Regions from separate parts of the Homo sapiens genome. Here regions 1, 2 and 3 are each linked to region 4. Evidence: promoter capture Hi-C in 16 types of primary human blood cells and fetal thymus (Javierre and others, 2016). All regions are on one chromosome and are shown on one strand. Each heading gives the region's core, a stretch centred on a gene start or on the middle of the fragment in contact. The rest is flanking DNA. Distances are from core to core; before and after follow the strand shown. Region 1 has its middle 13 kb from the start of LYZ. Region 2 overlaps FRS2 (fibroblast growth factor receptor substrate 2). Region 3 has its middle 37 kb from the start of IL22. Region 4 holds the start of MDM2 (MDM2 proto-oncogene).

Evidence for each region. Contacts are between HindIII fragments. The CHiCAGO score rates a contact against its expected background, and 5 or more counts as called.
Region 1: a contact is called between a fragment that was not itself captured here and the fragment with the promoter of MDM2 in region 4, in 1 of 17 cell types (neutrophils). The highest score is 5.9, in neutrophils.
Region 2: a fragment that was not itself captured here is called in contact with the fragment with the promoter of MDM2 in region 4 in 1 of 17 cell types (neutrophils); the score reaches 5.7 in neutrophils.
Region 3: a fragment that was not itself captured here is called in contact with the fragment with the promoter of MDM2 in region 4 in 1 of 17 cell types (megakaryocytes); the score reaches 5.9 in megakaryocytes.

What each region holds. Positions count from the first base shown.
Region 1 is chr12:69,333,006-69,337,558 of GRCh38, reverse strand. No RefSeq gene overlaps it. Among named protein-coding and RNA genes, the nearest start is that of LYZ, 13 kb to the left of the region's middle. The HindIII fragment of the contact is 4,929 bases long and covers 1-4,067 here.
Region 2 is chr12:69,576,769-69,581,244 of GRCh38, reverse strand. It overlaps FRS2 (fibroblast growth factor receptor substrate 2), which reads right to left. Exons shown (of 9, transcript NM_001278356.2): 9 at 1,452-4,476. Among named protein-coding and RNA genes, the nearest start is that of MIR3913-2, 5.7 kb to the left of the region's middle. The HindIII fragment of the contact is 812 bases long and covers 1,086-1,897 here.
Region 3 is chr12:68,288,299-68,292,828 of GRCh38, reverse strand. No RefSeq gene overlaps it. Among named protein-coding and RNA genes, the nearest start is that of IL22, 37 kb to the right of the region's middle. RefSeq lists a silencer at 2,318-2,377. The HindIII fragment of the contact is 3,963 bases long and covers 1,221-4,530 here.
Region 4 is chr12:68,805,169-68,809,441 of GRCh38, reverse strand. It overlaps MDM2 (MDM2 proto-oncogene), which reads right to left and starts at 1,265. Exons shown (of 11, transcript NM_002392.6): 1 at 951-1,265; 2 at 150-234. The coding sequence starts at 964. It also overlaps the pseudogene SZRD1P1. RefSeq lists enhancers at 288-677, 1-976 and a silencer at 1,178-1,567. The HindIII fragment of the contact is 7,204 bases long and covers 1-3,793 here.

The sequences.
Region 1 (4,553 bases), core at 354-2,853, 530 kb before region 4:
GTAGAAACTGAACCCACAAATGTAGTGCCATTTACACCCAGGCCTTGCAATCAAGTCAGCCTGACCCAAAGAGGATAAGGGCTGGTATCAGTGTCTCACACATCTATTTTGTGTGGGTTTTTTTAGTTCCAGAAACACTGTGTTGAGATCACACATTTATTTTAGAAAATAATTTCCTTGACTGCTGTTTCAAACTGACATGTAATTGAAGACTAACAGTAAATTAGAAATGTTATTTTAAAAATAGGATGCTAAACCCTAATCTGCTACTACTTGACTACTAATTTTTGTGAAAACAAAGGGAGTAAAATAAACCTAAACACATAAAAACTACACTTAGAATTATCATATCTATGTAAGGAATTCAATCACACTGCAAGTTAAATCTCCTCTGTGGAGTGTAGCATCTATTTTAGACCTGAATTTCATGTATGGACTTCATGATAACTTCATGTTAGTACATGGCTTTCTTACTAATCCCCTTAACTCCAGGTTTTCTCTCTTCTGACCCACTCCACACCCAGAACGTGCCATTCTTGAACTCAGAGGACTTAGTGTTAAAAACACACATATGTCATTACATATCATCTATGACTTCATTTTCTATTATTGTTTGCTGTTGTATTGTCTTTATAACTGCTATCATGAGCTTTTCGAGGGCTTATGCTCCTTTAAACCTTTGCTTCTGCCTTCCCAGTAAGAAACCTTCACTTGTACAATGTAACCACTCAACAAATTTGGTAAAGTCACTGTATAAAAAATACATCCCACCTACAATTAAATTGTTGCTCTTCTCTTCTGAACATGTGTTTTAAAACAGGATTCTGACGTTACATATGATGCAATGAAGTAACACAAAGTTCTAAATAAAAGCCAACCACAAACTACAGAGGAATGTGTTTTTTTAATTATTAGAAAATAATTACAAAATATAGCTTAGAGTTAAAAAAAGAGAGAGAATAGTTTTTATTTATTTATTTAATTTTTTTTTTTTTGAGATGGAGTCTCGCTCTGTCACCCAGGCTGGAATACAGTGGCACAATCTCAGCTCACTGCAACTTCCGCCTCCTGGATTCAAGCAATTCTCCTGCCTCAACTTCCCTGAGTAGCTGGGATTACAGGCGCCCACCACCATGCCCAGCTAATTTTTGTATTTTTTAGTAGGGACAGGTTTCACCAGGCCAGGATGGTCTCAAACTCCTGACCTCAAGTGATCCGCCCACCTCAGCCTCCCAAAGTGCTGGGATTATAGGTATGATCCACCATGTGAGCTACTGTGCCTGGCCGAGAGAATAATTTTTAAAAATACACAGTTAACTTAGCCCTCTGGAATACATTAGAAATAAGACCATATGTTTGAGGCACAGGATTTCTCATACCAATCTGGGTAGAAACTATTTGAAGGTATGATTCAATACTTCATTTAAAGTTAATAGGGGATTGGGTGCCATGGCTCACACCTGTAATCCCAGCTCTTTGGGAGGCCGAGGTGGGCAAATCGTGTAAGCCCAGGAGTTCGAGACCAGCCTGGGCAACATGGCAAAACCCCATCTCTACAAAAAATACAAATAATTAGCCGGGCGTGGTAGCATGCGCCTTAGTCCCAGCTACTCGGGAGGCTGAGGCAAGAGGATTGCTTGAGCCCAGGAGGAACAGAGGTTGCAATGAGCTGAGATTGTACCACTGCACTCCAGCCAGGGTGACACAGAGAGACCCTGTCTCAAAAAAAAAAAAAAAAATTTAATATGGACAAAAAAATTCCACTTTCATTGCTAAGAACACTATAATTTTATTATAGAATAAGGTCCTGTATAACATTTGGTTACAAAGTTTAAGAATTTATCTATTCATTAGTTCAATATAATAAAAGTTTTTTTTTAATCGAGACAGACAGGGTCTTATTGCCCAGACTGAAGTACAGTGGCGTGATCATAGTTCACTGCAGTCTCAACCTCCTGGGCTCAAGGGATCCTCCTGCCTCAACCTCCTGAGTAGCTGGGACTACAGGTGCACCACCAGCACACCCAGCTGATTTCTCATTTTTTGTAGAGATAGGGTCTCACTACGTTGCCCAGACTGGTCTCAAACTCCTGGGCTCAAGCAATCCTCCCATCTCAGTGTCCCAAAGTGCTGGGATTACAGGTGTGAGCCACTGCGCCCAGCCAAGAATAAAAATTGACTGAATATTTTTCTATGTAAGAGGCACTGTATTGATGCTGAGGATACCAAGGTGAAAAAACATGGTTGTTTTCTTCTACAGAACATGCAAACCAACAATTATAATCCAATGTAATAGTTTTAATGGTGATAGCTACAAAGTGATGATGGAGCATGGAGGGAACCTGAAGTCTGTCTGGAAGAGATGGTGAACGCTTCATAGAATTTCAGCTGAATGAGAATTGGGGGAAGAATAGAATTTTGTTTAGTGGACAAGTGGGGTAGAAGACTTGTGGTAGAAACTTCCAATACTCACCCATATCTAGTTCCCTCTCCTTCCAGGCACAGAGGAGGATTATACTTCCCTGTCCCCTTGTAGAGTTAGGCGGAGTGATGTAGCTAAGTCTAGGCAATGAGCTATGGGTAGAAATGTCATTTCTAAGCTGAAACATTTAACTGCTGGTGCAAAACACTCCAGTGCTCTTACTTTTCCTTGGCAACTGATGAAGTTGTATGTTTCAGAAAGTGTAGCTAGCTACCTGATGGTGGAACCTCCGGCAGCCTGAGCGTCTGAGTGACTATGTGGAGCAGAGCCACTTGCTAAACTGTGATAGGCATTTTGGAATGAATAAGGAATAAAATGCGTGTTAAGCCACTGACATTTTGAAATTGTGTTATTTCAGCATTCCAGGTAGAGGTAAACATATTTAAAAATAAAAGAAAGGAAGAATAGACAAATCTTCCATGCAGGAGAATTTCAAGTACTTTATGTAGATACTCTGCCCTCAAGGAAGTATTGAGGCTGTGCATAGTGACTTCCTTCCAAAGAATACAGTATGGAAACGAGGGAAAAGAATAATTTCACAGGAGAGAAACCTGACAAATTCTACTTCAGTCAGTAGATCAATGTTAACATCAACAGTGATAAGCCACATTGATAAGTATGCATCCTTGATATGATGTGATGAAAATGGTATTTGCCTCTGTGGTCTTTCTCTCCAAAACATATAACCCCAGTCTCACCATAAGAAAAACATCAGACAAACCTCAAATGAAGATTATTCTACAAAATACCTGATGAGTACTCAAAACTGCCAAGCTCATCAAAACAAGGAAATTCTGAGAAACTGTCACAGCCAAGAGAAGCCAGAAGAGATACAACAACAAAATGTTATATGCCACCCTGGATAGGATCCTGTAACAGAAAAGGGGCATTAGGTAAAAACTAAAAAATCTGAATAGAGTATGAACTTTAGCTAATAATAACATATCAATATTGGTTCATTAATTGTAACAAAGGTACCTTATTGATGTAAGATGTTAGTAATAAGGGAAAGTGGGTGTGGGGAATACAGAAATGAACTGTCTTATCTTCAGGATTTTTTTGTAAATCTCAAACTATGCTGAAATTAAAAGTTTATTTAAAAATAAACACTGCCTCGGCAACATAGTGAGATTCTGTCTCTTAAAAAAAAAATTGGCCAGGCATGATGTTACATGCCTGTAGTCCTAGCTACTCTGGAAGCTGAGGTAGGAGGATCACCTGAGCTCACGAGGTAGCGCCATCATTGTGCCACTGCACTCACTCCAGCCTGGGTTGCAGAAGGAATCTCTGTCTCAAAAAAAAATAAAAATAAAAAATAAAATAAAAAAAGAAAAGAAAGGAAAAAAGGTATAAGAAAGAATATGGTATGCTGTGGAAGTTCCTTTCAAAGTAGAAAGTGGAAGTGAAGAGCTTGGCTGGGTAAATGAAGAATCTTTTATGCTATTAAAAGGAAATTCCATTTTTATTGTATAGGTTAGGTGAAGGATCCCTAGAAGATCTATGGATAGGCTTCAGAGGTGTTGCTAAACCTCCAAAATTATATAAAATTATATTGCATATTTTTCTCAGAAGAAAGTAAAAAGCTTTATTATTTATTCTCAAAAGTATAAGTACCTAAAATAGGTTAATAATCACTGCTGAAGGCAATGTAAAAACTGAAGTCTTCCGAGTAAAAGGAATGACACAATTGTATTTTTTTGTGTGCCAAAAAGGACCATAGATCACTTTTTGCTAGGACAGACTAAAGTGATTTGGTGTGTGTGGGGGTGTGTGCGTGTTTGGAGAAGGAAGGCCAAAATGAAAGGCAAGATGATAATAAAGACAGTGATCTTCAAACTTTTGAACGTGGTACATTTTGCAAGGGGAGAAAACTGTTGGGATTCACTCAGGATGGTGGCAGAAAGAATAAAGGGAAATATTAGGGAAAGTTATAGGAAATAGTCACAAACCTTTTAGAAGGCCGAAAGTTTACATAGCTTGTAATAATTGAACAGGCCAAGGCGGCCAGTTCTTACCTTAGAGCATTAGGTCATAGGGTAAATACAAGGGACAACAGAGGCTTCCCCAGTTA
Region 2 (4,476 bases), core at 242-2,741, 770 kb before region 4:
TAATTCTTCCTCCTTTAGGCCCTCTATTACATTGGTGGCCCTGAATAAACTACACTTTTGATGTTCATGCTTTTATATGAGCCACTGTAATTCAACAAAATACAACAGAATTGACATTGTGCCAGTTCTGGGCTTAGGCCTCAAGAAAGCCTAGCAGCATCTACTTTTGTGCTCTTGGGAACCCTAAGCTGCCATGTAAGAAGACCACATGAAGAAAGACCCAAGACTTCATGGAAGAAAACTAAGGAACACAGCTGAGAGCTTTAAGTTCCAGACATAACCTAGTGGAACTGGTCCAGCCAGCCCTCAGCTGCTTGAATCATACTAGCATAGGCACAAAGCATATGAGGAAGCCAGGCCTCCAGACATCATGTGAGATGAGCCATCTCTGCTGTGCCCTGCCCATCTCGATCTATAGCAACTTGAGACATTAAATGATTGCTGCTTTAAGCCACTAACTTTTAGGGTGGTTTGTTGCACAGCAGTAAACAATCTAAACAGTCCTTTAACAATGCCTTTGAATACGGATTTATCAGATCTGGCTCCATTTCTGAAAAAGCCTCTCAACCAGTCTCCCTGCTTTATTAAAATACCGTAGGGCCAGCTACTTGGGAGGCAGAGCCAGGAGAATGGCATGAACCTGGGAGGGGGAGCTTGCAGTGAGCCGAGATGGCGCCACTGCACTCCATCCAGCCTGGGCAACAGGGAGAGACTCCGTCTCAAAAAAAAAAAAAAAAAAAAAAAAAAAAATACTGCGCCCTTCACGTATCCATGTTGTCAGAGAAATCTTTCTAAACTATTATTTTTCTGGTGTTTAAAATCCTTCAAGTTCTCTCACCTAATTTAAACAAAAGCTCCTTAGGATTCTGTGATCTGTTTCTCATTTCTCCTTTCTTCTGTATCCCCCAACCCTGCCTTTGCTCTCCATGCGCTTAGTCATTTGGAACCTCTTGCAACCACTGAATGTCATGATCTTTCTATACCTCTGTGCCTTTGCACATGCTATCCCTTCTCCCTAAGACATCCTCTCTAAGCTACAAAGACTTTCAACAAACCACCTCAGGGATCACCCCCTCTAAGAAGCTTTGCTTGAAAACCTCCACCCCTAGGCTGAGTTGGATGCCCTTCCTTTGTGTGTGTCTTTATCATGCCAGTTACATCAATCACTTGTGGACATGTCCATCTCCTTCATTGTTTAAATAATTTCCATCTTGACCTGTACTCAACTAAGGCTTTGCAATGTCACTCAGTGGCTAAAAACAGGTTTGAAGTCCCAGAGCTGAGAACTACTATTTGGAATGATCACACAGCTAAAACTGTGAGAAAGCCTGTCATATAGTTACAATTTCATTTTGATATCTTCATTTTGAAAATGGAGGCAGTGATATGAGACTAGGAAAGAAAATGTCACAAAGTTTCAAGTAGTATGTGAAATATAAATACAATAAAACTTTTAAGTAGATATCCGACCAAACGTTTTATTGGGGTTTTATTGCAATCTACTTTCAGCAATAAGGGGAAAGTGAGCATGAAAAGAACTCCAATCAGACTTTATTCAATAAAGCAGCTTTTCATGAATGCTTCAGGTCAGTGTATGATCAGCTCAGCTTCCAGTATCAACTTGAGTACCTCATTATGGATATTTATGCTAGAATGACAACAGTAAGGCATTGCAAAATCCAAAGTCATCTAATATTAAACCATATTTTACATAATTTGTAGGACAGTATACTAATACTCTACAATAAATAAGGATTTAAAAATGTGTTGCTTAGCCCTTGAACTAAATTCAATTACTAGCTTATTCTAAGTACTCCAGTTAATAAACGTTTGATTGTAAAGAACTCTGACTTCTCCAAAGATAAAAAAAATTAGTTGTCATGACAAAAATTAAGCTTAAAAAGCACATTCACACTTGTCCTTAAAAGCAAGTTTACATCATATATGAGAAAACTTTTCATGCCTGATGACATGGCTTATATGGCAAAAAACAGTCATATGCAAAGGACAACTAGAGGGCAATCGTCCCATCCCCACTTCCTCCAAAAAGCCACACTCGGCCTCAGTGTAAAAGTTATATTTTATTGCCATGCTACAAAATGTATGAAGTTGGCACTGATAGGGAGAAATAGAGAACAAAGGGTGGGAAGGGATAGAGGGAAAATTATGTTGTTACATATACAACAAGGTTTTATTTTAATTAACAGTGGTTACGTTTTGCCAATATTAAAAATGCAAACCAAAATTTAAAATGCTGATCTGAAACAGCATTAAGATACAATGTATGCATAGTACAGTATCACTTATGTCTTTTTATTAGAGAAATATGGAATGTTTATAAAAGAAATTAACCATGGGGGTAAAATTCATATTTCATATACAATTTGGCAATGGTAGTCCCACTGTTGGACAATTTTTTATAAAAGAAAAAATTAAAAATCTAATAAGCTACCTTTATACAAAGTTGCTATATTTATGCCTTTACGTAGGAAAAAAACATTTATAATGCAAATTAGGACATACAATAGTCTTACAATATTATACAATGTAATGAAAATAAAACATAACACAAAGTTTGTCCTTTATAAAATGTATATTTTGCATTACTAATGCAAATGTGGCACACTGGTGACTACTGTACTACTTATACCAGTCTGTTTCCATGCTATAACTGTCCAATTGCCATAGAACTGCAATTATAATGATGCTACAAAAGAACTGTGTTATACCAAAAATGAGGAAGTAGGGATGGGGAACAGGGATGTAAAGAACAGGAAAGATAGATAGGGTGCTGGTTTGGGCAGAGTATACTGTGGTACGTCATAAAATATGTTAATTTTTCAAGCCAAAAACATTTTCTTTACATTCTGTAATTTCGTACCAATGCCTTTATTCAAATTTGGCAAACATCAAGGAAAAGGTAATTAGTACCATATACCTCACACATCAGAAATATGAATGAGATGCCAATACATCAGTTACTTGTGAATGATGTCTCTGATGGTATGTCTATTTCAAGAATATATGTATTTATACACACACACTACACATTGCACAAAACATTTGGGCATTATAGGTTAGGAATAGCACGGGGGAATTGGGAAGTACTTTTTCATCTGTTAAAACCTTTACCTTGAGGCAAAAATATGGCGGCACATTGTTGGGAAATTATGAAAACATAAGGCCCCTGTCCCATTTTTAATAGAACATTATTGAGGTACATTTTTATATGCTGTGCCACAGTTTTGGGGAGGGGGAGGAGATAAACACTAGCTTGACTTGTTCTATTTATAACATTGAACGCTGGAGAGGGTCAACATTAGTATCTATAAAAACAAAGATTGCTTGGCAAATTTTCCTAAGTCCCAGATATGATGTATTCTGGATATACTGAGAAGTGAAAAGCTTTTTGCTGAATCTTAAAGAGTAAAGTGCATATCTCATCACTCCACAGCAGCAGTAAATAAAAGGAAATATTTGCCAGTCTTCCTGGAGGGAGGGAAGGCACCATATTTTCATTTTTAGAAGAAGATGAAACTGGGAAATAAAACACACTAAGAAAAAACACAAGTAATACCAATATCAGTTTCCAACCCTAGCATGGGATAGATGCTGTTATGATTTGTATGGATAAAACAGTATTCTATTTGGAGGGAAAACATTAACAATGATTATATTTCCAAAACCAAAAAGAAGGATCACATGGTCTACCAACAGAATTATCTAAAATTAGATCTGCCTCAGAAAATCTGAGATATATGGCCACAATTATATGCTAATAAAATATCAATATTTCATTCTAAAATGCACCTAGTAATAGGTACATCCTTCGAGGACACAGCTTAATGCCCATTACTAAACTACTGCAAAGGACAAGTAGTATTCTAAATTACCTTTTATTAAATAGGAACACAAGTGATTTCTAGAAAATATCTAGAAATTAACACCAGTTGTATATATTTTCCTAATACTCTTATAGTACCTAAAATCAAATTCTTAGCAGACAAATTGGTCCCATTTTCCTTTTTAAAGCACATAGTATTTAAAGCATAAACTGTAATGATTATATTGGAGTTATCTAAAAAAAATAAAAACTAATTAGAATCCGGGGGAAACAATGAAAAGGATGACGGAAAGAAAGAATAAAGTACCCAACCTCCAAAATGAATAAATAGATCAGCCCTTGCATTTGGAGATTAATGTTCTGCCTTGACTGGCTGTTTCAGAAAAAAATGTGCAATGGTTCCATCATAATTCTTATTCCACATTACAAAAACTATTACATAAATTTGGCACAATTAGCAATTTACTCAGAAGAAAGGATAAGTGGAACAATATATTAAAAATGGAACCTGCATCATGGAAACTGCACACCTATACCACTGCTCTCTTTTAAGAGAACAGTGAGCACTTTAATAAGCACCAAGTTCACAGGGGAACAAAAGGGAGAAAAGAAAATTCTGCTATGCACATAGA
Region 3 (4,530 bases), core at 1,953-4,452, 520 kb after region 4:
TATCTCACAAGCCACACTGGGGAGCCAACCGCAGAACTGCAACGAGTGGTTTTTCTAAAATGCATACACCTACCTGCTTTTTTCTCTGCCCCTCCCCCATCTTCACCCCAGGTGTTGAGATTCTCAGTGTATCCGTGTTTGAGAGCCCTTATAAAAATGCACCAAAACACATACATGGGAGGTTTCGCATGTTAATTTCTGGTCTCATCTCTGGATCCCCATGGAATTCTGAACTCAAAATTAAACCTTGAAGGATAGTTGTGACGATTAAGGATAAATAACATGATAAATATGCTTGGTACATAGGAGGAAATGTTACCATGAGATTTAAGCATAAATATCATTTTACAGATGGGAAGACCGACTTAGATGAAATAACTGGCCCAAGATCTGAAGGCTGGTGAATTAAATCTAGGCCTCCTTACTCGAAATCCACCCACACTAACTCCTTTGAAGTGTGTATGCTAAAATTGCAAGTCCCACTGTGATTCAGTTCTCTCTCTGGTTGATTCATTTGGGAGTTAATTTTCTACTTTGCCTTCTTGGAAGATAAATGACTACCTTTTCTAGTCGGGAAAAAGAATATGTGAGCATTGAATTATTGTACAAATGGATTCAACCAGAATGAAAGCAAATTAATATTCAAAACAAGCTTGTCCTTAAGTAGAGAAGTGTTGAAGTTGGCTACTTAGGGAGCTCAAGGATGGATTATATATTTTTGTTTTAATTGTGCATGCACATATCAGACATCCAGAAAATATCCTGACTTCTGGAAGTTTACCAAAGGAACAAATAATGTAAAATGGTAGATGATCCCAGAATTATTTCTATTTGGTTTTGGAATATGTTTTTGGTACTTTTACATCTGAAAGTGGTAGTCATGTTAGTGTGCTCAGGGCCCAGTCTGTCAAACCACCATTACTCAGTTTCCCAAGGTGATTCTGCTGATAGAGATTACTCCAGGCCAAACAACAGTCTATGTCATTGGACTAGCTAGGGTTGTGCACCAATGGGTCTGGTCACATGGGGTCTCTGAGAAGCCAACTTGCCCCATGAGCTTGACTCATGGACTAAAAGCAGGCTACTGATCTCTTCAGCTCCGTGCTGATGAACTTTCTTGCTAATGTTGACTCTGCAATCTAACCATACGTGTCTTTCTCCCATGGCAAGTGGAGGCACAGAAAGACCCAGCCCTTTGCTCTCAGGCTTAGAGCCAAGCTTCTTTAAATCATATGTCATGTTTCATTCCCACCCTGAGGCTCTTATACAGGAGGCAGCTCCCCATCCTGTGACTCCTGCCATGTGGCAGGTAAGAGCAAAGGATGAGTCATCTTAAAGATGGCATCCATTTCTCTTCTACGAAGTGCTCTACCCACTAGTCTCCATCCGTAGTTTCATTCTGCCCTATATCCATATAAAGCATATCTGGAAATTGAGAAATGAGGACTTGGGGGACACTAAGCCACCTTTGGAAATCAGAACATGAGGCCAACAGGTAGAGTAATGTTTGGGGAGTTTACACCAATTCAGACCACATAATGGACAATTTAGATAATGCTGGGAAATTGTTCAGTTTCTCCCCTATACAGTCTACATGCCAGTATTATGCTGGAGCTAACTCATGGGCCAATCATTAAATAAGAATGTTGTGAGCAAGTTGTTAAAGTTATCAGTAGTTAGAAATTGGCCATGGTGGGAGTATTTACACCACTGAAATCAACAGATGCCATAAATTAGGGCTTCTCCCATTTACTGGGAGGCGGTTTACAAGCCCATCACTAGCTACTGCCTCAGTCTCTCCTAAACTTTCCATATCACTTGCCTGACAGAGAAAACAATCTACTTCAGAAAGCCAGCTCAAGATAAGCTGCTTTAATATTTATTATACCACTTACATATTCCTTGGCTTATACAAATGGTTTGGTTTAGTTTATTTTCTTGGCTGAAGTCCACCTAGAAAATAAAAACAAGCCACAAATAACAATAGACTTACAGAGGGAGACTATGCAGAGACGGCCTAGGAATCTATATGTGTAATCTTCCAGATTCTCATAGGTAGTTTGGGAACAACTGGCTTTGGGGTTATAGTAGCCTATGTTCTAGTCCTAACTCCACCTTGAGCAAGCCAATTGAACTTTGAGCTTGTATTCCTCATCTTGCAGATTAAGATCACTCACCAATTTAGTTTTCAGATTAAATGGCATAAGGTCTGTGAAGTTTTCATATATGCTATTTAAATGTTATTCACTTCAAAATGTTTAGTTTTATTATGTCGGCAAATTTTCATTAAAACAACAAGAAAAAAAGCCTTGTTTTAGAGAGGCTAAGGTTAAATCTAATAAGCAGGTGACAGGGTACCCTGAAATCGTGGCCTCTCATCACAGACCTATCAGTTGTGACCTACATTCAGCTTACCCAGAGGCAGTTTCAGGTAGGGGTGCTGAAATGATTTGTCTATTTCCGTTATGTGGTAAAGCGAAAAAAGACTGACTACAGTGTTGTGACTCAGCTACTCTAGAAGGTGGAACTAATTACCTGATAAATGCAAACTATATTAGCGTAACCATGAATTGGAGATGTTATCAGCTTTGAGTCAGGAAATGCAGAGATAAAGTACCCACGATAATTACTGATGAAAGGAAAGATAGTCAAGGTTGGTCCCTGAATGAATGCGTGCCCAATATCAAAGATTTCCTATGTTTGCTGCAAGTTTTTTTTGAATAAGGTGAATTAAATTAAACTCAGTTTTGTAATTTTAAGAAGAAAATATAAACTAACCCAAATGCCACACATTATGGGAAGATGCAGGCACTTTACACTCATAACTTCAATGATAGTCAGAGTTTGGGCATCTCAGGAAAAATTTGCCCACAGTGAGTACCTTAGCATTCAATGTTCCTGTCAAAAAACTATTCAGGTCAAAACAGTTAAGGTTCTGGGGAAACCAAAAGAAAATCGAAAATAGGTTGTATGGCAATACTAAATTTTGGTTCCACAAGGAACGAGTAATATGAAGTTTAACTTGTAATTTTGCAAAGATGAAACATCCGAAGTGCTTTACTAATTTGAAAACATATACCTGGCACTAACAAATACCCTAGCATGATCATTTAAATCAATTACCGGCCAGGTGCGGTGGCTCACGCCTGTAATTCCCAGCACTTTGGGAGGCCTAGGTGGGTGGATCACGAGATCAGGAGTTCGAGACCAGCCTGGCCAACATGGTGAAACCCCCATCTCTACTACAAATACAAAAATTAGCTGGGTGTGGTGGCGGGTGCCTGTAATCCCAGCTACTCGGGAGGCTGAGACAGGAAAGTTGTTTGAACCCGGGAGGCAGAGGTTGCAGTGAGCTGAGATAGCACCATTGCACTCCAGCCTGGGCGACAGGGCAAGACTCCATCTCAAAAATAAATAAGTAAGTAAATAAATAAATAAATAAATTACTATGAATCGTTGCTGCCAAGACTTTTTGTTTATTTTTTATTTTTAATTTTTTTATTATACTTTAAGTTCTAGGCTACATGTGCACAATGTGCAGGTTTGTTACATGTGTATATTTGTGCCATGTTGGTGTCCTGCACCCATTAACTCGTCATTTACATTAGGTATATCTCCTAATGCTATCCCTCCCCGCTCCCCCCACCCCACAACAGGCCCTGGTGTGTGATGTTCCCCTTCCTGTGTCCAAGTGTTCTCATTGTTCAATTCCCACCTATGAGTAAGAACGTGTGGTGTTTGGTTTTTTGTCCTTGTGATAGTTTGCTGAGAATGATGGTTTCCAGCTTCATCCATGTCCCTACAAAGGACATGAACTCATCCTTTTTTATGGCTACATAGTATTCCATGGTGTATATGTGCCACATTTTCTTAATCCAGTCTATCATTGTTGGACAGTTGGGTTGGTTCCAAGTCTTTGCTATTGTGAATAGTGCCGCTATAAACATACATGTGCATGTGTCTTTATAGCAGCATGATTTATAATCCTTTGGGTATATACACAGTAATGGGATGGCTGGGTCAAATGGTATTTCTAGTTCTAGATCCTTGAGGAATCACCACACTGTCTTCCACAATGGTTGAACTAGTTTACAGTCCCACCAACAGTGTAAAAGTGTTCCTATTTCTCCACATCCTCTCCAGCACCTGTTATTTCCTGACTTTTTAATGATTGTCGTTCTAACTGGTGTGAGATGGTATCTCACTGTGGTTTTGATTTGCATTTCTTTGATGGCCAGTGATGATGAGCATTTTTTCATGTGTCTGTTGGCTGCATAAATGTCTTCTTTTGAGAAGTGTCTGTTCATATCCTTCGCCCACTTTTTGTTGGGGTTTTTTTCTTCTTGTAAATTTGTTTGAGTTCATTGTAGATTCTGGATATTAGCCCTTTGTCAGATGAGTAGATTGCAAAAATTTTCTCCCATTCTGTAGGTTGCCTGTTCACTCTGATGGTAGTTTCTTTTGCTGTGCAGAAGCTCTTTAGTTTAATTAGATCCCATTTGTCAATTCTGGCTTTTGTTGCCATTGCTT
Region 4 (4,273 bases), core at 16-2,515:
CACGCAGTTACGCCAGAGGTAGCACACTTTAAGCTATGCACATACAATTTTATTTACAGAGCCATGCTACAATTGAGGTATACGAAATTTAGTTTATCACTTCATAAAATAAATTATTCTTAAAAGTTACACGAGACAAAAATACTAACCAGGGTCTCTTGTTCCGAAGCTGGAATCTGTGAGGTGGTTACAGCACCATCAGTAGGTACAGACATGTTGGTATTGCACATTTGCCTACAAGGAAAAAAAAGACACGATGAAAACTGGAAATCATGAAACATCTGTGGAAAATACATCATATATAAAGAACATAAACAACAGTTAAAACTAAAGCTACAAGCAAGTCGGTGCTTACCTGGATCAGCAGAGAAAAAGTGGCGTGCGTCCGTGCCCACAGGTCTACCCTCCAATCGCCACTGAACACAGCTGGGAAAATGCATGGTTTAAATAGCCCCAGCTGGAGACAAGTCAGGACTTAACTCCTTTTACTGCAGTTTCGGAACGTGTCTGAACTTGACCAGCTCAAGAGGAAAAGCTGAGTCAACCTGCCCACTGAACCGGCCCAATCCCGCCCAGACTACGCGCAGCGTTCACACTAGTGACCCGACAGGCACCTGCGATCATCCGGACCTCCCGCGCCGAAGCGGCCCCGCAGCCCCCGGCCCCCGTGACCTTTACCCTGAACTCCCGCGGAGACCTCCGAACCACCCCCACCCCCACCGCCGCGAGAGCCGTCCGAAATCCCGCCCTCCTCCCTGGCGGCGACTGCCTAGCCCCAGTCCAACAAAACCTCCGCAAAGCCACGTGCCCCATGCCCCGCGCCCCGCGCCCCGAGCCCCCAGCCACGAACCGCACAAAGGCTGCGAACGGGCAGAGGCTGGGAACCAGCGATAGAGGGGACACCGTCAGAGCCCAGACCCAAAAGTGACCGCTCGCTGCCGGGCCAGTACCTGCTCCTCACCATCCGGGGTTTTCGCGCTTGGAGTCGGGGGTCCCTCAAGACTCCCCAGTTTCCTTCACGGGGCGCGCGGAAGCACGACGCCCTGGGCCTCGGGGATCATTCCACTCTCCGGGCCAGGGCACTGGGCGCTCGTACGCACTAATCCGGGGAGGGACGGTGCTCCTGGCTGCGAAAGCAGCAGGATCTCGGTCAGAGGGGTCGCGGCCGCCCCTCGGGCTCGGCTTCTTGCTCCATCTTTCCGACACACAGGGCCACACAGGCCCCAGAAGCAGCCAAGCTCGCCGCGGTGCCTCGGTGCGCGCCCCCTACCGCCCGAGGGGAGCGCGCGGGTCGTCGCGGCGCATCCGGGCATTTGTGCGCGCGCACACAACCGGCCCCGCTTCCGCCAATTGGGTCCGGGGCTCGGCCGCACCACCTCCGGGATGATGGAGTGGGGGGTGTCGCCCCGCGGGCGCGGCGGGCTGTGAGGCGGGGTGGGGGTGTTGGCCGCGAGCTGAGAGGGTGGGGCTCGGCCTGGCGCGGAGCCAGCAAGGTTTGGCGCTGTGACACTCCTTTAGCCGTTGCGCTATGTTTGTATTTCTTGTGTTTACACTTCCCGCCCGCGGTGGAAACTGCGACAAATGCGGATCTCCGTGTCGCTGTTACCAAAAAGAAACCAAAATTAACAGCTGTTTAATATATTAAGCCCACTCCACCAGCCGCTGGAGTTGTACCCAAATGAGTTATTTTAAGGCCTGTTTTTAAAAAAGATTAAAAATAGCACTTAAGGCAGGCTTATACACCGGTGCATACAGCTGTTCTGGTTGGAGAACGAAGATGCTGGTTACCGTTGGCGGGGAGGGGAGCGGTTACTCTGCGCTTTTAGAATGTTTGGGTTTGGCTGGGCGCGGTGGCTCACGCTTGTAATCCCATCACTTTGGGTAGGCCGAGGCGGGTGGATCACTTGAGGTCAGGAGTTCAAGACCAACCTGGCCAACATGGGAAACGCCGTCTCTACTAAAAACTACAAAAATTAGTCGGGCGTGGTGGCGGTCACCTGTAATCCCAGCTACTCTACTCCGGAGGCTGAGGCAGGACAATCCTGTGAACCCGGGAGGCAGAGGCTGCAGTGAGCCAAGATCATGCCATTGCACTCCAGCCTGGGCGACAGGGCAAGACTCTCAAAAAAACAAAAACAAAGTTTGGGTTTGTTAATCTACACATTCATTATCATTAAAATATATACTTATATATTATGCACTCATTCTGACTCACCTACTTTCCCACAGAGATGTGGCAAAAACGTTTTTGATGCGGTCTCATAAATTGAGGACATAAAGAATTGAGTTAGCTAAACCCAAAAACACAGCCATTGCAAAGAAGGAACACGTTTCTTCTCTGGCCAGTAAGTGATTAGCTCCTTGTGAACAAGGACCTTTTTTTATAAAGTTATATCCTTCCCTTCTGCAGCTTTTTTTTTTTTATAAAGTTATATCCTTCCCTTCTCCCGCTTCCCAGCCTACCAGAAAGGAAACTTCCTTAAACATAGTGGTCACTCAGTTGATTTAAGTTGATTGCCAATATTATTAACTTAAGAGATTTAATATGTGGCTTTTAAAAAGATAATCTCATCTTCATCAGATCATATACAGTGGGGTTTCTAATAGACTCAGTGCTTGACCCTGGATGAAAGAAAATCTCAAGCAGTGAGAAAATGTAAGCATGAAAAGATAAGTGATAGGCTGCGCACGGTGGCTCACGCTTGTAATCCCAGCACTTTGGGAGGCTGAGGTGGGTGGATCACGAGGTTAGGAGTTCGAGACCAGCCTGGCCAAGATGGTGAAACCTTGTCTCTACTAAAAATACAAAAATTAGCCGGGCCCCGTGGCGGGCGCCTGTAATCCTAGCCACTTGGGAGGCTGAGGCAGAAGAATCGCTTGATCTCGGGAGGCAGAGGTTGCAGTGAGCGGAGATCGCGCCACTGCAGTCCAGCCTGGGTGACAGAGCAAGACTCCATCTCAGAAGAAAAAAAAAAAAAAAGAGATAAGTGATAGAGGTTGATATTTGTTAAATATCAAGTGAACGAATGGGTTTGTGCTATAAAAGTTCAGAGACAGAATTAATTGCTTAGTAAATGCTGGAGGCAGTTCACAAAGGCCTCAGAGATCACACATATTTTGTGTCTTGAAAGATGGTGAGACTTAAATAAAAGCAGAGAATATTCCAGGCACAAGAAAATTATCAAAAAATACAGAAAGGAAAATATAAGAGGACTGTTTGAGATACAATAAATAAATCCGTTTGACTTGCATGAAAGTCAAGAAGAAGTTTTAAGAACTTGGAGTCTCCTTAAATGCCAAGCAAGGAAATTTGGGCTTTCGACAGAGTAGACATTAGAAGCATAAAAACAAGTGATTTGCTTCAAACTGTATTTTAACAGGACCACCAAGAGTAGATTCAAACTCAGAATAGTCGGGCCGGCTGCCTTCTGGACCGACTTTCCCCCTTCTCATTGGCCTTGTGCTTTGAAAAAATTATCTTGACAAAATTATTAGAGCAGAAAAAAAAAGGCAGAACTGATAAGATTAGTCCTTTTCTAATGGAACCAGAAAAGAAGGGTCAGAAATGAAGGCAGAAGGGAGAAGCGGGGGTGGGGGAGAGAGAGAGAAGTAAAAAGGATTCACTCAAGAACCTGGTATTCAAAACTACGTGTACCAGCACTACCACAGCAGTATGACTCAGTGTCCACCTAAAGCATGATGATACTGCTTACCAAAAAAAGTCTGGAGGGAATGAAAAGTTGGGTTAGTTTTAAGTTATGGGTCACAGAACAGAATTCGGTGGTAAAAAGCTTAGGCTGGGAACAGAGCTTGAAACAGCAAAGGAATGAGAGGAACGACCAAAAAGCCAAGGACCATATAGTGATGTCTGAAAAATCAGAATCAGGTAATAATATTGAATACTGCAAAAGTCAGAGAAAATGTGGAAATAAGAAAGCAAGCGATCTGGAAAGTGGCGAGTAAGATGGAATATGAGGAGGTTGCTGAGAGCTGGGAGGAGACGGCAGACAGCGGGGAAATAGACGTCTGGAAAAAAAACTGAAGATCACACAGAAAGCAGGAAATTCAAATCTCCCAAAGTGCCCATTGTGATTCAGGATGATAATTTTCCCCCGGGACCCCCTCCACAGGTCCGCATCCTCAAGAGGCCCACCAGCAACGGTGTGGTCAGCAGCCCCAAGTCCGCTAGCAGGCCCGCCCTTCCAGTCAAGTCCCTGGCACAGTGGGAAGCCGAGTACACCGAGGCCAGGAAGCGGATCCTGGGCAGCGCCAA